4 separate regions of the Homo sapiens genome follow, and regions 1, 2 and 3 are each linked to region 4. The links are contacts of gene promoters, found by promoter capture Hi-C in blood cells and fetal thymus (Javierre and others, 2016). All regions are on one chromosome and are shown on one strand. The core of a region is centred on a gene start or on the middle of the fragment in contact, and the rest is flanking DNA. Distances in the headings are between cores, read along the strand shown. Region 1 has its middle 4.9 kb from the start of MIR12126. Region 2 overlaps GPR107 (G protein-coupled receptor 107). Region 3 overlaps GPR107 (G protein-coupled receptor 107). Region 4 holds the start of TOR1A (torsin family 1 member A).

Region 1 (3,467 bases), core at 287-2,786, 420 kb before region 4:
GGCTAATTTTTTGTGTTTTTAGTAGAGACGGGGTTTCACCGTGTTAGCCAGGATGGTCTCGATCTCCTGACCTCGTGATCCGCCCGCCTGAGTCTCCCAAAGTGCTGGGATTATAGGCATGAGCCACCGCGCCTGGCCAAAACTTTCAAACTTTTAGAAGAAACACAGGAGAACAAATATTCACCACCTGAGGATAGGCAGAGAGTTCTTACACATGACACCAAAAGCACAGTCTATGACAGGAAAACTTGAGAAGCTGACTTTATCAAAATTCATAATGTGGCCTGGCATTGTGACTCAACGCCTGTAATCCCAACACTTTGGGAGGCTGAGGCAGGTGGATCACCTGAGGTCAGGAGTTTGAGACCAACCTGACCAATATGGTGAAACCCTGTCTCTACTAAAAGTACACATTTAGCCGGGCATGGTGGCACGTACCTGTAATCTTAGCTACTCGGGAGGCTGAGGCAAAAGAATCGCTTGAACGTGGGAAGTGGAGGTTGCGGTGAACCAAGATTGTGCCATGGCACTCCAGCCTGGGCAACAAGAGCAAAACTCCGTCTCAAAAAAAAAAAAAAAAAGAAAAGAAAAGAAAAGAAAAAAGAAATTTATTTCTCACAGTTCTGGAGACTGAGAAGTTCAATATCAAGGTGCCAGCACCTTGTAAGGGCCTTCATGGTGTGTCATCCCATGGCAGAAGGTGGAAGGGCAAGTGAGCGTGAGAAAGAAAGAACCCACTCCTCAAAGCCCGCCTTTTTAAAATTTTTTTGAGACAGGGTCTCACTCTGTCACCCAGACTGGAGTGCAGTGGTTTGATCTCGGCTCACTGCAACCTCTGCCTCCCAGGTTCAAGTGACTATCCCACCTCAGCCTCCTGAGTAGCTGGGATTACAGGCATGTGCTACCACACCTGGCTAATTTTTGTATTTTTTGGTAGAGACGGGGTTTCACCATGCTGGCCAGGCTGGTCTCTAACTCCTGACTTCAAGTGATCTGTCTGCCTCAGCCTCCCGGAGTGCTGGGATTACAGGTGTAAGCCACCGTACCCAACCAAGGCATTAACCCACTCATGAGGGCAGAACTGTCATGGCCTAACCACTTCCTAAAGCACCAGCTCGTAATACTGTCACAATGGCAATTACATTTCAAACACGTGTTTTGGAAGGAACATTCATGGAAGTAACACCCAAGCTTCATTGGAATAAAAAGGCTTTTTCTTCTGTGTTTTTTGGTATGGATTTGTTAAACATTTCAAGCTCATTCCGTTGGATATAATTTAATCTTGTTCTTCATAGTTGAAGAGCACTCACTCATAGCATTAAGGTGCAAAGTATATTATTTTTTATAATTATCAACTTAATACACACATACACAAAGGATTAGGGAACAGGCCGGGTGTGATGGCATGTGACTGTAGTCTCAGCTACTTGGGAGGCTGACATGGGAGGATCACCTAAGGCCAAGAGTTCGAGACTGCAGTGAGCTATGATCACACCACTGTACTCCAGCCTGGATAAAAGAGTAAGGCCCTGTTTCAAAAAAAAGAAAAGAAAAAAAGAGAGATTAGGGAAAAGAAGCTGCTCAGAGTCACCAGCTGGTGCTTCCACTGGGTCTCAGCCTGGTCTTGTTGACTCAGAGGCCAGGACATGGTGCTGGTGACGTGCTACCCCTATGGACAGCAGGGACCGGGGCTCTGGGAGTGGCTATGTGTCCTCCAAGCTGGTGCTCCCTGGAGAGGCTGTTCCTACTTGTAAGGAAACAGAGGAACACATTGCAAAACCTTTCATTTCACTTGATGGGAAACATCATTTTATCATCCTTCTCTGTCACCTGCATCTTTCTAACCTCTCAGTTTTTCTCTGGCACTGAGCAAAAGCTTAGCCCACTTTGTGCTGGGGATTGAGCTGGGGAATTTCCAAGTAGTGATTCTAGTGACAGTGATTGCATATAGCAGGGCTCTATTTGATGTAAACTCATCACAGGCCCTGGGGCTCCAGTTTTCCTATTTATCTGGCTATATGGGTCCTCGTGGCTCCAGAAAAAGCGGGGGCAAGGGCCAGACCAATTTTTTTTTTTTTTTTTTTTTCAGATAAAGTCTCACTCTGTCACTCAGGCTGGAGTACAGCGGTGCGATCTCAGCTCACTGCAACCTCCACCTCCCAGGTTTAAGAGATTTCTGGCTAAATTTTGTATTTTTAATAGTGACAGGATTTCACCATATTGGCCAGGCTGGTCTCGAACTCCTTACCTCAAGTGATCCACGCGCCTCGGCCTCCCAAGGGAGGAATTACAGGCGTGCGCCACTGCGCCCGGGCCAGGTGCCCCAGAGATAGCTCCCTGGGTGGTTGTGGGGGGCCCCTTGGGGTTGGTGGGGCAGAGGTCATGTTGGCAGTGGGGAGCCTCCCTCTGCTATCGACTAGTTCATGACAGGCTCCTGTTTCAAGGTATTTTCCTCTCTGAAATTTTGGACTTGGACCCAGATCTTGAGTGCAGCTTCACCCATGGCCCAAGTGGCAAGAAATAAAAGCTGATAGCCAAATCGATGGACCAAAATGAAGGGGCAACAACTTTGGGGTGGAGAGAATTGGATAATATCAATGACATTCACTGTTTTCACGTAGGAAAGGCCCTCAGACAGATCATCTGAGCATCACACAGATGCTCCCCAGCAGCCCTATGAGAAACGTGCTTCTATTATCCTCACTTTAAAGAGGAGGAAACTGAAGCTCAGAGAAGTTCAGATTCAGTCTATCTCCAAAGCCAACTGCTGGTGGGGATGCAGCCAGCACTGGAACCCAGAGAAGGAACCTTAACTGCCAGTCATGCTGGATGAGATGAGAAACTTTGGGACAAGAGGTCCCTTCGCCCCAAATTTAATTTACAGCCAGATGGGTATGGCAACCACAGTAGCTTCAAGACATTTGAAAACCAGCCAAGAGCACCAAAGAGAGCCGGCTTTCTCCAGCCCCACCTGCCCGTCATATCCCAGGCCTCCCTAGGTCCCCCACTGGCCAATCAGAGTCCCTCTTATGGGGGAAACCCTTTCTCCAGCCCTGTCGCAAGACTGGTTAGGAGGGTGAGGATGGGGCCGAGGCCTCGGGGGTCTCAGGGCTTATGGGAGTGGCCGGTTCATCACCTTCCTTTACTTCTGGGAGAGCCCCTGGCAGGGAGAGGCCAGAAGTCAGCCAAGGACACCTGCTGCCCTGTGGCCACTGGGGCTGGGTGGTTCCGAGGAGCCACGGATCTGACTTGTGCTTGCACCAGGAAGGTGGCTTCTCCTCACACGAGGGCTCAGCCCTGTGGCCTCGTGGAAAATTTCAGATTCTGGGAAGTGCTGGTTCTAGGTGACCCAAGGGAGAGGACATCAGGCCAAAGGTGATGCGTCACGGTGGTGGTCACAGTTTGGGGTCCAGTTGGCCTCAAATCCCCTCTGCCTTTTTTTTTTTTTTTTTTTTTTTGAGACAGAG
Region 2 (3,453 bases), core at 89-2,588, 290 kb before region 4:
TGTGCGCTACCACGCTCAGCTAATTTTTGTATTTTTAGTAGAGACAGGGTTTTACCATGTTGGCCAGGCTGGTCTCGAACTCCTGACCTCAACTGATCCGTTTGCCTCCGCCTCCCAAAGTGCTGGGATTACAGGCATAAGCCACTGTGCCTGGCCCCAAAATAAAAAACCTCTTTTCTAAAAAAAAAAAATGAAAAAAAAAAAAAAAAAAAAGAATGAGAAGACCAGAATTATTTTTGTAATTCTCTTTAATGTCTAGCTTAATAACATGCAGCTGGGTTCTCATATTTGATTCAATCAGCATTCAACTTGCTGTGAGGGAGTATTTGGTGAAAATATATGAAGAAAATCTGGCCCCATACAGATAGATGTAGGCCTTTTCAGATTACTGTGAATAGTCTGTGATTCTACATTAAAACCTGACAAGAGGTTGCTTCTAAAGATGAGGGAGGTGGGGAATCTGAAATTTATCAATGAACTTTCCACACTCTTACATTAATAAACTCCACTGGTCCATCCTGCACTTTCAGGAGAGCTTTTACCCCCATGCATGACTATGGAACATCCTGCACTGGCCAGGTGGAAGACAATGTTTCAGTGTGTTATGTAGATCTCCCAGATACAGAAACATTTTATTATAGAATTCTTAAAAAAATCACATTGTTAGTATCACCTCTGCTTACATCATAAGTCTTATAAGAACTGGGAAACTGGCCGGGTGTGGTGGCTCACACCTATAATCCCAGCACTTTGGGAGGCCGAGGTGGGTGGATCACTTGAGGTCAGAGTTTGAGACCAGCTTGGGCAACAAATTGAGACCCCGTCTCTACAAAAAATATAAGAATTAGCCGGGCATGGTGGAAAGACCTGTAGTCCCACCTACTCAGGAGGCTGCAGTGGGAGGCTCACTTGAGCCCAGGAGGTCAAGGCTGCAGTGAGCTGAGATTGTGCCATTGCACTCCAGCCTGACTCAAGGAAAAAAAAAAAAAAAAAAAAAGATCTGGGAAACTGTCAGTTAGGAAACTGTCAGGCTGACAGGGATAAACACAAGTTTTCTTTTATCACTGGCAACAAATACTATTAGTTGTTTTTGTTGAAGTAATATGTTCACTTTGTTCATTTTCAAGAAAATGTCCACCACAAACCCATGTCTGTGTCACCATAACAGTCATTCTTCCAGATAAAAGCAGCTTGGCCAGGCACAGTGGCTCATGCCTGTTATCTCAGTACTCTGGGAGGCCTAGGTGGGTGGATCACTTGAGCTCAGGAGTTTGAGACTAGCCTGGGCAATATGACAAAATCCTATCTCTACAAAAAATACAAAAATTAGCCAGGCATAGCAGCACACGCCTGTAGTCCTAGCTACTTTGAGGGCTGAGGTGAGAGGATCGGTTGGGCCCAGGAGGTTGAGGCTGCAGTAAGCCAAGATTACACCACTGGACTCCAGCCTGGGCAACAGTGCAAGACCCTGTCTCAAAAAAATAAATAAATAAAAAACAACAAAAAAATAAAATAAAAGCAGCTAGTTCAGCTTGCAATTCAAACAAGTGCACACGTACTTTCCCTCAAGGCCACACCCATCACACTTCAGGCCCAGCAGCAGTGCTGTGTGCACACCTCCCATGCTGTCTCACAGAATATTAAAAGGCAAGGGTTGAGATTTAATCACATCAACAGTTTTATTATTTCAAGACCATTCTTAAGTGATATGAGCCTTTTTCACCCCCTGTGAGTAGGTGACAGTAAAGAATGCAGTGGCTACTGGCAGATTCTGGTACCACAGCCTGGAATCACGTGACGGTGCCGGCAATTTCACCCATCATTGCTTTTCACCATCAGGCAAATGTCAACAGCACAAGAGACTCACACCGTATGATTATGAAAATAGTTTTGATCCCGAGGACCCCCTTGAGAACCGCTGCCCTAACAAATGCCTCGCATGGTCGCGGCTCCTTTCAGAGCACGGCGGCACCTCGGAATGAAGCCGTTCCTCCATCAACTCTGCAGCCAGCCAACCGGGATTGTTTAAATACTTCTGAAGCTCACATGAAAGCTAAGGCTCTTCAGAATACATCTTCTGACTTTTCCTCAGAAACACAAGGCCCAAAAAAAGGATGGTGAGCAGCAGAGACTGTTAATTAAATTTACGGTGTGTATCTCGACGCCAGTCCTATAAGGTAATGACACTGGAGAAAGAGAAGGGAACGCGGATGCGGGCTCAAGGGCAGTCAGAGCCAGTAAATCTTAGCAGGCGAGACAGAGTGGAGCCAGCGCTAGGTGTGTCTGTGCGAGACTCAATTAAGCTCCCTCTCGGAGGATGCAGTGCAGCTGTGAGTCTCAGTGACCGAGGACCTGAGAGAAGCCACTGCGCGTGACAGGAGAGACAAAGACGCGGCTAAAGGACAGTGGGCAGCTTCGGCCTCAATGCTTTCCTTTAGATTTCCCTCAGGTTTGGTCAAAAGGAATCCAGAGACAACAAAGTAAAAGCCAAACAAACACTCTCTGAAAGCTGTATTCACCCCAAAACTGAAAACTGTATTCACCCCAAAACTGAAAGCTGTATTCACCCCAAAACGGAAAGCTGTATTCACCCCAATGCAGGAAGGAAAACTACAAATGGCATGTCTCTCACTTGCAGTTACTGGGCCTGGACTGCACCTAAACTAAAAATGAGATTCTTTGCCATAGTGTTTTGTTGTTGTTGTTGTTTTGAGATAGGGTCTGGCTCTGTTGCCCAAGCTGGAGTACAGTGGTACAATCTCAGCTCACTGTAGCCTTGATCTCCTGGGCTCAAGTGATCTTCTCACCTCACCCTCCCAAGTAGCTGGGACTACAGGCGTGTGCCATCAAGCCCCGATAATTTTTGTATCTTTTTCTAGAGGTGGGGTTTTGCCATGTTGCCCAGGCTGGTCTGCCACAGTTTTTTGTGTGGTTTTGGTAGAGATGGGATCTTGCTATTATGTCACCCAGGCTGGTCTAAAACTCCTGGCCTCAAGCAATCCTCCTGCCTCGGCCTCCCAAAGCGCTAGCATTACAGGCCTAAGCCACCATGCCTGGCCTAAAAGTGAGATTCTTAAGCCCGAAGTGGCCAGATGCAGTGGCTCACACCTGTAATGCCAGCATTTTGGGAGGCCTCATGAGGCAGGACGATGGCTTGAGGTTAGGAGTTTAAGACCAGCCTGGGCAACAGAGTGAGACCTCATCTCTACAAAAATTTTAAATTAAAAAAAAGAAAAGCCCAAGTTACTGTCAAGGCCATGAAATGAGTCACTGGAATAATGAGCCTGAGAACAGGAAACAGAATGTCAGGCTCTATCCAGCAAAGCTTCCAAATCTAATAGGAGACATTATTGCCTGTAGCCTTTGTGCTCCTAGTTGCCTCCAGATCTCAGGAGTGAACTGAGGGGGCACAGAGGGCCAATGGGGCCACAGATCCCAGCACCAGCGACTGGA
Region 3 (3,418 bases), core at 743-3,242, 270 kb before region 4:
AAATCTAACACAGGCTGCCAGCTTGTTCCCGGAAACCACCCTGGGAAAGCCAGAGGCAAGAATGAGGTAGATGGACCTGAGAAAACAGCACAGAACTCCTAGGAAAGCAGAAAGCGATTACAAATAGCTGTAGGGGAAGTCTGCAGCCCAGAGTAGGGGGACTGGGAGCCAGCAGTAGGGATGTGTGAGGAGAAAGTGCCAGGGTCATGCCCATTTCTCTCTCCTTCATGGCTGGTGTCTGCAAATACCCCAGGCCAATGAGACAAAGCACCCATTCCCATGCCCACCCCATCACAGATACTAGTCCACCTTTCGGCTGCCGGGCATTAAATTCCTCTACTCCTTCCCACCTCCCCTTAGGAATTAACCTAATAGAACATATTAAGACTATTATGAGGCTAGGTGCAGTGGCTCATGCCTGTAATCCCACACTTAGGGAGGCTGAGGTGGGAAGATTACTTAAGCCCAAGAGTTTGGGATTAGCCTGGGCAAGATGACAAAACTCCATCTCTACCAAAAATACAAAAAGTTAGCTGGGTGTGGCGGTGCACACCTGTAGTCCCAGCTACTTGGGAGGCTGATGTGGGAGGATCACTTGAGCCCAGGAGGCAAAGGCTGCAATGAGCCGTGACTGTGCCATTGCACTCCAGACTGGGTGACAGAGCGAGTCCCTGTCTCAAAACGGTCTCAAAACAAACAAAAATTAAGCCAGGAGTGGTGGTGCGTCCCTATAGTTTCAGCTATTCGGGAGGCTGAGGTGGGAGGATCACTTGAGCTCAGGAGTTTGAGGCTGCTGTAAGCCTTGATTACGCCACTGCTCCAGCCTGGACAACTTAGTGAGACCCTGTCTCAAAAAAAAAAAAAAAAACCCAAAGAATACAGGCAGCCACAAGAGGGGAAATGGTTAAGTCTCTAAAATGATAATCCACATCACCAATATTCAGAGAAACGCAAAATAAAGCAAGATACCACTTTACACCTATCAGATTGGCAAAAATTAAGATGTCAGTATTGGTAAGAATGTGGAGAAACAGCAAACCTTATTATGTATGCACCACTGGTAGACGTATAAACCTATATGCCACACTGGAAGGCAATCTGGCCCTTAACGAAATTAACTGATGGCTGGGCGCAGTGGCTCATGCCTGTAGTCCCAGCACTTTGGGAGGCCGAGGCGGGAGGATCTCTTGAGGCCAGGAGTTCAAGACCTGCTTGGCCAACACAGTGAAAACCCGTCTCTACTAAAAATACAAAAATTAGCCCGGCATGGGCGTACATGCCTATAGTCCCAGCTACTCAGGAGGGTGAGGCAGGAGAATCGCTTGCACTCAGGAGGTGGAGGTTGCAATGAGCCAAGATGGTGCCACTGCACTCCAGCTTGGGTGACAGAGTGAGACTCTGTCTCAAAAAAAAAAAAAAAAAGAAAAAAAAGAAAAGTAAAGAAAAGAAATTAACTACCCATGGCACAGTGTGCTTCCTTCTGGGACTGCAGCTCGGAGGCTGCACAGATCCACAGGGGATCTTTGGAGGTACATGCCAGCACTGGCTGAGGTAGCAGGGAGATGTAGGCAGTCCAGGCGTGTGTCTATCACTAAAGGACCAAAGCAGTCAAACGTGAGGACACAGAGCATGGGATGCTGTGGAGTAGGTAAAAATCAATGAATGAGATGCACACTCAGCCACATGGCTAGATCGCAGAAAGGATAATACTGAGTAAAAAATGTACAACAACGTCTATAGATATTTTATGTAAACTTAAAATAAATGCAACACCAGTAAACAGTACTTATCTATAAGAATATAGAAATATCCAAAAATCAGGCCAGACGCAGTGGCTCACGCCTGTAATCCCAGCACTTTGGGAGGCCGATCACCTGAGGTCAGGAATTCTAGACCAGCCTGGCCAACGTAGTGAAACCCCGTCTCTACGAAAAATACAAAAATTAGCCGGGCATGGTGGCAGGCGCCTGTAGTCCCAGCTACTCGGGAGGCTGAAGCACGAGAATTGCTTGACCCGGGAGGCGGAGGTTGCAGTGAGCTGAGATTGCACCACTGCACTCCAGCCTGGGGCACAGAGTGAGACGAGGTCTCAAAAAAAAAAAAAAAAAAGTCCAAAAATGTATATGCAACACATTTGAGCAGTTCTCCACTACTGGGAAGGAGTGGGAGAGGGGACAGGAAATGAAGGGGAACAATAGAGCAGGAGAGGGGCCTGGCACCAAGTGAGAATGAGAGTGTACCACAAAGGGATATCAGTTTCTGGGCTCATTTCCTCCCTGGTACTTTCCTGTTCCAGTGCCCACCTACTTGAAGGTCAAAAGGGAAGTCAAGGCCAGAATAGCCTGGAACTACTGAATGCCAATGAGATTTACCCAGAGTGTAAAACCACCCACCACAAAGAGCTGTGCTCATTCACACTCTGGCAACCTTGACTTGCAGTCCATGGTTAGAATATCTACGATGGGGCAGAGATGTGATGGAAAGAATACTCACTGACCTCGGCTCAAATACTAGTTCTACCTACACTTGAAGTTGGGAGGGGCCTGATACATACTAGCAAGCAGACCCGAGTTCCAGTCCCAGGTCTGTTGGGTGACACTGGCTCTCGTTTCCCCTCTCTGGGCCTCAATAAATGAGGCAAAGATCTCTTAGTCGTTTCCAGCTTTCAGGGGCCAGTGAAATGCGCCTGGCGGCCTTGGTCATATGCCTTTATATCATGTGGGTTTCCAGCCTACCAGAACTGACTCTAAGACTCCCGGGAAAACATGGGCAGGACTTAACTGACCTTCCCCCATGCACACTATACTCCAACAAAAATTACAGATGAGACTTGTACACAATAGGTCAGCCTCATTTAACCACAGATTGAAAACTGTGTTATCACGGTCTGGGTGCACTGGCTCATGCTGGTAATCCCAGCACAATGGGAGGCCAAGGCAGGTGGATCACGAAGTAAAGAGATCAAGACCATCCCAGCCAACATGGTGAAACCCCGTCTCTACTAAAAATACAAAAATAAGCCAGGCATGGTGGCGGACGCCTGTAGTCCCAGCTACTTGGGAGGCTGAGGCAGAAGAATCACTCAAACCCAGAAGGCAGAGGTTGCAGTGAGCCAAGATTGCACCACTGCACTCCAGCCTGGCGACAGAGCGAGACTCTGTCTCAAAAAAAATAAAATAAAGAAAACTGTTACCACAATTTGATACAAGTGAACCAGTGACAATGACTATTGCCACCAATAACTAAAGGAAAATTAAAACACCACTGAACCCCTGGCTACTAAACTATTTTATAAACACCTCATGTTTGGATTGCGCCCTGATTTGCAAAGCCCTCTCATACACATTATCTTAGGGAGAATCACACAACATGTCTAAGAATCCAAGACTCTTACAGGAAGGCAGAGTAACTATTACTG
Region 4 (3,421 bases), core at 638-3,137:
TTTTGTATTTTCAGTAGAGATGGGGTTTCACCATATTGGTCAGGCTGGTCCCAAACTCCTGACCTCAGGTGATGCACCTGCCTCAGCCTCCCAAAATGCTGGATTACAGGCATGAGCCACCATGCCCAGCCAGTTTCTAATGCCATTTTACAATGAAAGGAATCAGGGTTCCTCGTAGAAAATAGGATTCTAGGACTGGGGCAGGAAATACAAGATGAGCCCGGAGTATCCTGTAGTGTCAGAAAGGAAAGAGGCACTCAAACCCAAATAAGCTGGTATATACACTGGGTGTATGTCAAAGGAGCACAAGGAACCACTCAAATTCCCAGTGGCCAAAATGAGAACAATTTGAAAAAAAAATTAGTACTGTAGTATAACAAAGGATAAAATAACAATGGTCCACACTGATATAAATGATTGAATACATGGGGGAGAAGAAACAAATCTCCCATGCAGAATTCCAAATAATTTCTGTAGATACTCTGCCCCCAAGGAGGTGGAGCAAAATCCCCGACTCCTTACGTGTGGGCTGTGCATGGGGACGTCCTTCCAAAGAGTACAGTAGAGAAAAGAGGGGTGGGGGGACCTGACAAACACTACTTCAGTCAAGTGATCAAGTCAGCACCAACAGTGGTAAGTAACGTTGAACAGTAAGAACCCTTCCTTGGTAGGATGTGATGAGCATAGCACTTTACCTCTGTGATCTTCCTTCCAAAACGCCATAACGCTTGTCTAATCCTGAGAAAAACATCAAATCCCAATAGAGGGCCAGCCCACCAAAGATTTGGCCAGTACTCCTCAAAACTATCAAGGTCATCAAAAATAAAAAGCTGAGGCCAGGCGCGGTGGCTCACGCCTGTAATCCCAGCACTTTGGGAGGCTGAGACGGGCAGATCATGAGGTCAGATCAAGACCATCCTGGCCAACATGGTGAAACCCCGTCTCTACCAAAAATACAAAAATTAGCCGGGCATGGTGGTGTGTGCCTGTAATCCCAGCTGCTCAGGAGGCTGAGACAGGAGAATCGCTTGAACCTGGGAGGCAGAGGTTGCAGTGAGCTGAGATCATGCCACTGCACTCCAGCTAAAATAAAAATAAAAGGCTGAGACACTGTCATTAACAGTAGTCTAAGACATGACAACGAAATATAATGTGGTATCCTGAATGGAAACCTGCAGCAGAAAAAGGCATTAAGTAAAAGGAAGGAAATCTGAATAAACTACACTTTAGTTAATATGACAACAGTGCATCGTTAATTTTAACAAATGTAGCACACTAATAATGTAAGATTTTAGTAATAGGGGAAATTGCAGGGATGGGTGGCACATGGGAACTCTCTACTATCTTCTCAATTTTTCTGTAAATCTGTTCTAAAAAATAACGTCCGTTATTATTATTATTATTATTATTATTATTTGCGGGGAGGGGACACAGTCTTGCTCTGTCTCCCAGGCTGGAGTGCAGTGGTGAGATCTCGGCTCACTGCAATCTCCGCCTCCTGGGTTCAAGCGATTCTCATGTGTCAGCCTCCCCAGTAGCTAGGGCTACAGGTGCCTACCACCACACCCGGCTAATTTTATATTTTTAGTAGAGACGTGGTTTCACCATGTTGGTCAGGCTGGTCTCGAACTCCTGACCTCAGGTGATCCGCCCGCCTCAGCCTCCCAAAGGGCTGGGATTACAGGCAGGAGCCACCATGCCTGGCAAAAATAACGTCCATAAACAAAAACACGTGGCCAACAGGGGCGGAGCAGAACCGAGTTTCCGGAAGCAAAACAGGGCTTTGTACCGAACAAAGATGGCGGCCGCCGGCGTCGGGAGGAGGGCTGCCCTGAAGAAAGATGGCCTCCGCGAGAGGAGGAACCGGAAGCGTGGGTCTGGCGGCTGCACCGGTTCGCGGTCGGCGCGAGAACAAGCAGGGTGGCGCGGGTCCGGGCATGAAGCTGGGCCGGGCCGTGCTGGGCCTGCTGCTGCTGGCGCCGTCCGTGGTGCAGGCGGTGGAGCCCATCAGCCTGGGACTGGCCCTGGCCGGCGTCCTCACCGGCTACATCTACCCGCGTCTCTACTGCCTCTTCGCCGAGTGCTGCGGGCAGAAGCGGAGCCTTAGCCGGGAGGGTAGGCTGGGGCGGGGGCTGGAGGCTGGGGCTGGGGCTGGGGCTGGGCGATGGCACTAGGGCTGAACTAGGACCAGGGCATGGAGAATGGAGGATGGAGGCCGGGGGATGGCACCAGGGCCGGGCTAGGACTAGGGCTGGAGCGGGGCCTGGGGGCTGGGGCTGGGCGATGGCACTAGGGCCGGGTTGGGGCTGGGGCTGGGGCTGGGGGATGGAGCGGGGCCCGGGGGCTGGGGGTGGGGCTGGGGGATCGCACTAGGGCTGGGTTAAGACCAGGGCGGTTGGCTGGGGCTAGGGGATTGAGGATGGTGGATGGAGGCTGGGGGATGGCAGTAGGGCCGGGCTAGGACTGGGGCTGGAGCGGAGTTTGGGGGCTGGGGCTCAGGAGCGGGGGCTGGGGCTGGGGCTGGGGCTGGGGGATGGCACTAGGGCCAGGCCGGGGTAGGGGTCACATCCCAGGAGGGCCGGGCCTGGGCAGAGCTGAGTCCGCGGGGGCCGGACCCCGGAAGCCAAGCGGCCGGCCTGCAGGATGAGGCCTGGCTCCTCGGCCATGACCACAGACGTGCCAGACTTAAGTCGGAGACCTGAGGAGCCAGGCTGCAGGTTGGCCTACTTTGCGCTAAGCTGGGGGTGGACCAGTGGTAACCTCCCTCCGAAGTGGGTTCTGCCTCCTTTCTAGCCTAGCGGGAGACAGGAAGGATGGTGAGGACTCTTCCGCAGCCGACCAGGAGGGACCAAACTGTTTCCTTTCCCGGCTCTGCCTTGGGGTGGGAGGAGCAGCACAGGGGTTAGGGGTGCAAACTGGTGGCAGTGGCAGTGGCACCAAGGGGCTTTTCGGGAAGGAGTCGGGCCAGGGCTTTAGAATAGGCAGGACCAGCAAAGGGAGGGCTCCCTGGACCGCCGTCCCCTCTGGGCCAGGAGCTTACAGACCGCAGTACTTGAGGTTTCGCAAGGTGCTTGGAGGGCGTCTAGACGGCTTTGCTGGCTTTCTTATGGGCTGTAAATGTGGCTACATTTTGCCGCTGTTTCTTCCCCACTCCTGATTGGCTTTGTCTTTCCCAGCACTGCAGAAGGATCTGGACGACAACCTCTTTGGACAGCATCTTGCAAAGAAAATCATCTTAAATGCCGTGTTTGGTTTCATAAACAACCCAAAGCCCAAGAAACCTCTCACGCTCTCCCTGCACGGGTGGACAGGCACCGGCAAAAATTTCGTCAGCAAGATCATCGCAGAGAATATTTACGAGGGTGGTCTGAACAGTGACTATGTCCACCTGTTTGTGGCCACATTGCACTTTCCACATGCT

Evidence for each region. Contacts are between HindIII fragments. The CHiCAGO score rates a contact against its expected background, and 5 or more counts as called.
Region 1: a fragment that was not itself captured here is called in contact with the fragment with the promoter of TOR1A in region 4 in 2 of 17 cell types (endothelial precursors and activated CD4 T cells); the score reaches 5.8 in endothelial precursors.
Region 2: a fragment that was not itself captured here is called in contact with the fragment with the promoter of TOR1A in region 4 in 3 of 17 cell types (activated CD4 T cells, endothelial precursors and megakaryocytes); the score reaches 5.7 in activated CD4 T cells.
Region 3: a fragment that was not itself captured here is called in contact with the fragment with the promoter of TOR1A in region 4 in 12 of 17 cell types (naive CD4 T cells, activated CD4 T cells, non-activated CD4 T cells and 9 more); the score reaches 13.3 in naive CD4 T cells.

What each region holds. Positions count from the first base shown.
Region 1 is chr9:130,244,522-130,247,988 of GRCh38, reverse strand. No RefSeq gene overlaps it. Among named protein-coding and RNA genes, the nearest start is that of MIR12126, 4.9 kb to the right of the region's middle. The HindIII fragment of the contact is 685 bases long and covers 1,194-1,878 here.
Region 2 is chr9:130,110,790-130,114,242 of GRCh38, reverse strand. All of the region lies in intron 14 of GPR107 (G protein-coupled receptor 107), which reads right to left. Among named protein-coding and RNA genes, the nearest start is that of GPRACR, 32 kb to the left of the region's middle. The HindIII fragment of the contact is 3,979 bases long and covers 1-3,327 here.
Region 3 is chr9:130,095,160-130,098,577 of GRCh38, reverse strand. All of the region lies in intron 9 of GPR107 (G protein-coupled receptor 107), which reads right to left. Among named protein-coding and RNA genes, the nearest start is that of GPR107, 43 kb to the right of the region's middle. The HindIII fragment of the contact is 8,854 bases long and covers 1-3,418 here.
Region 4 is chr9:129,822,602-129,826,022 of GRCh38, reverse strand. TOR1A (torsin family 1 member A) reads left to right here and starts at 1,887. Exons shown (of 5, transcript NM_000113.3): 1 at 1,887-2,115; 2 at 3,177-3,421. The coding sequence starts at 1,938. RefSeq lists an enhancer at 1,693-2,002 and a silencer at 2,413-2,502. The HindIII fragment of the contact is 11,037 bases long and covers 1-3,421 here.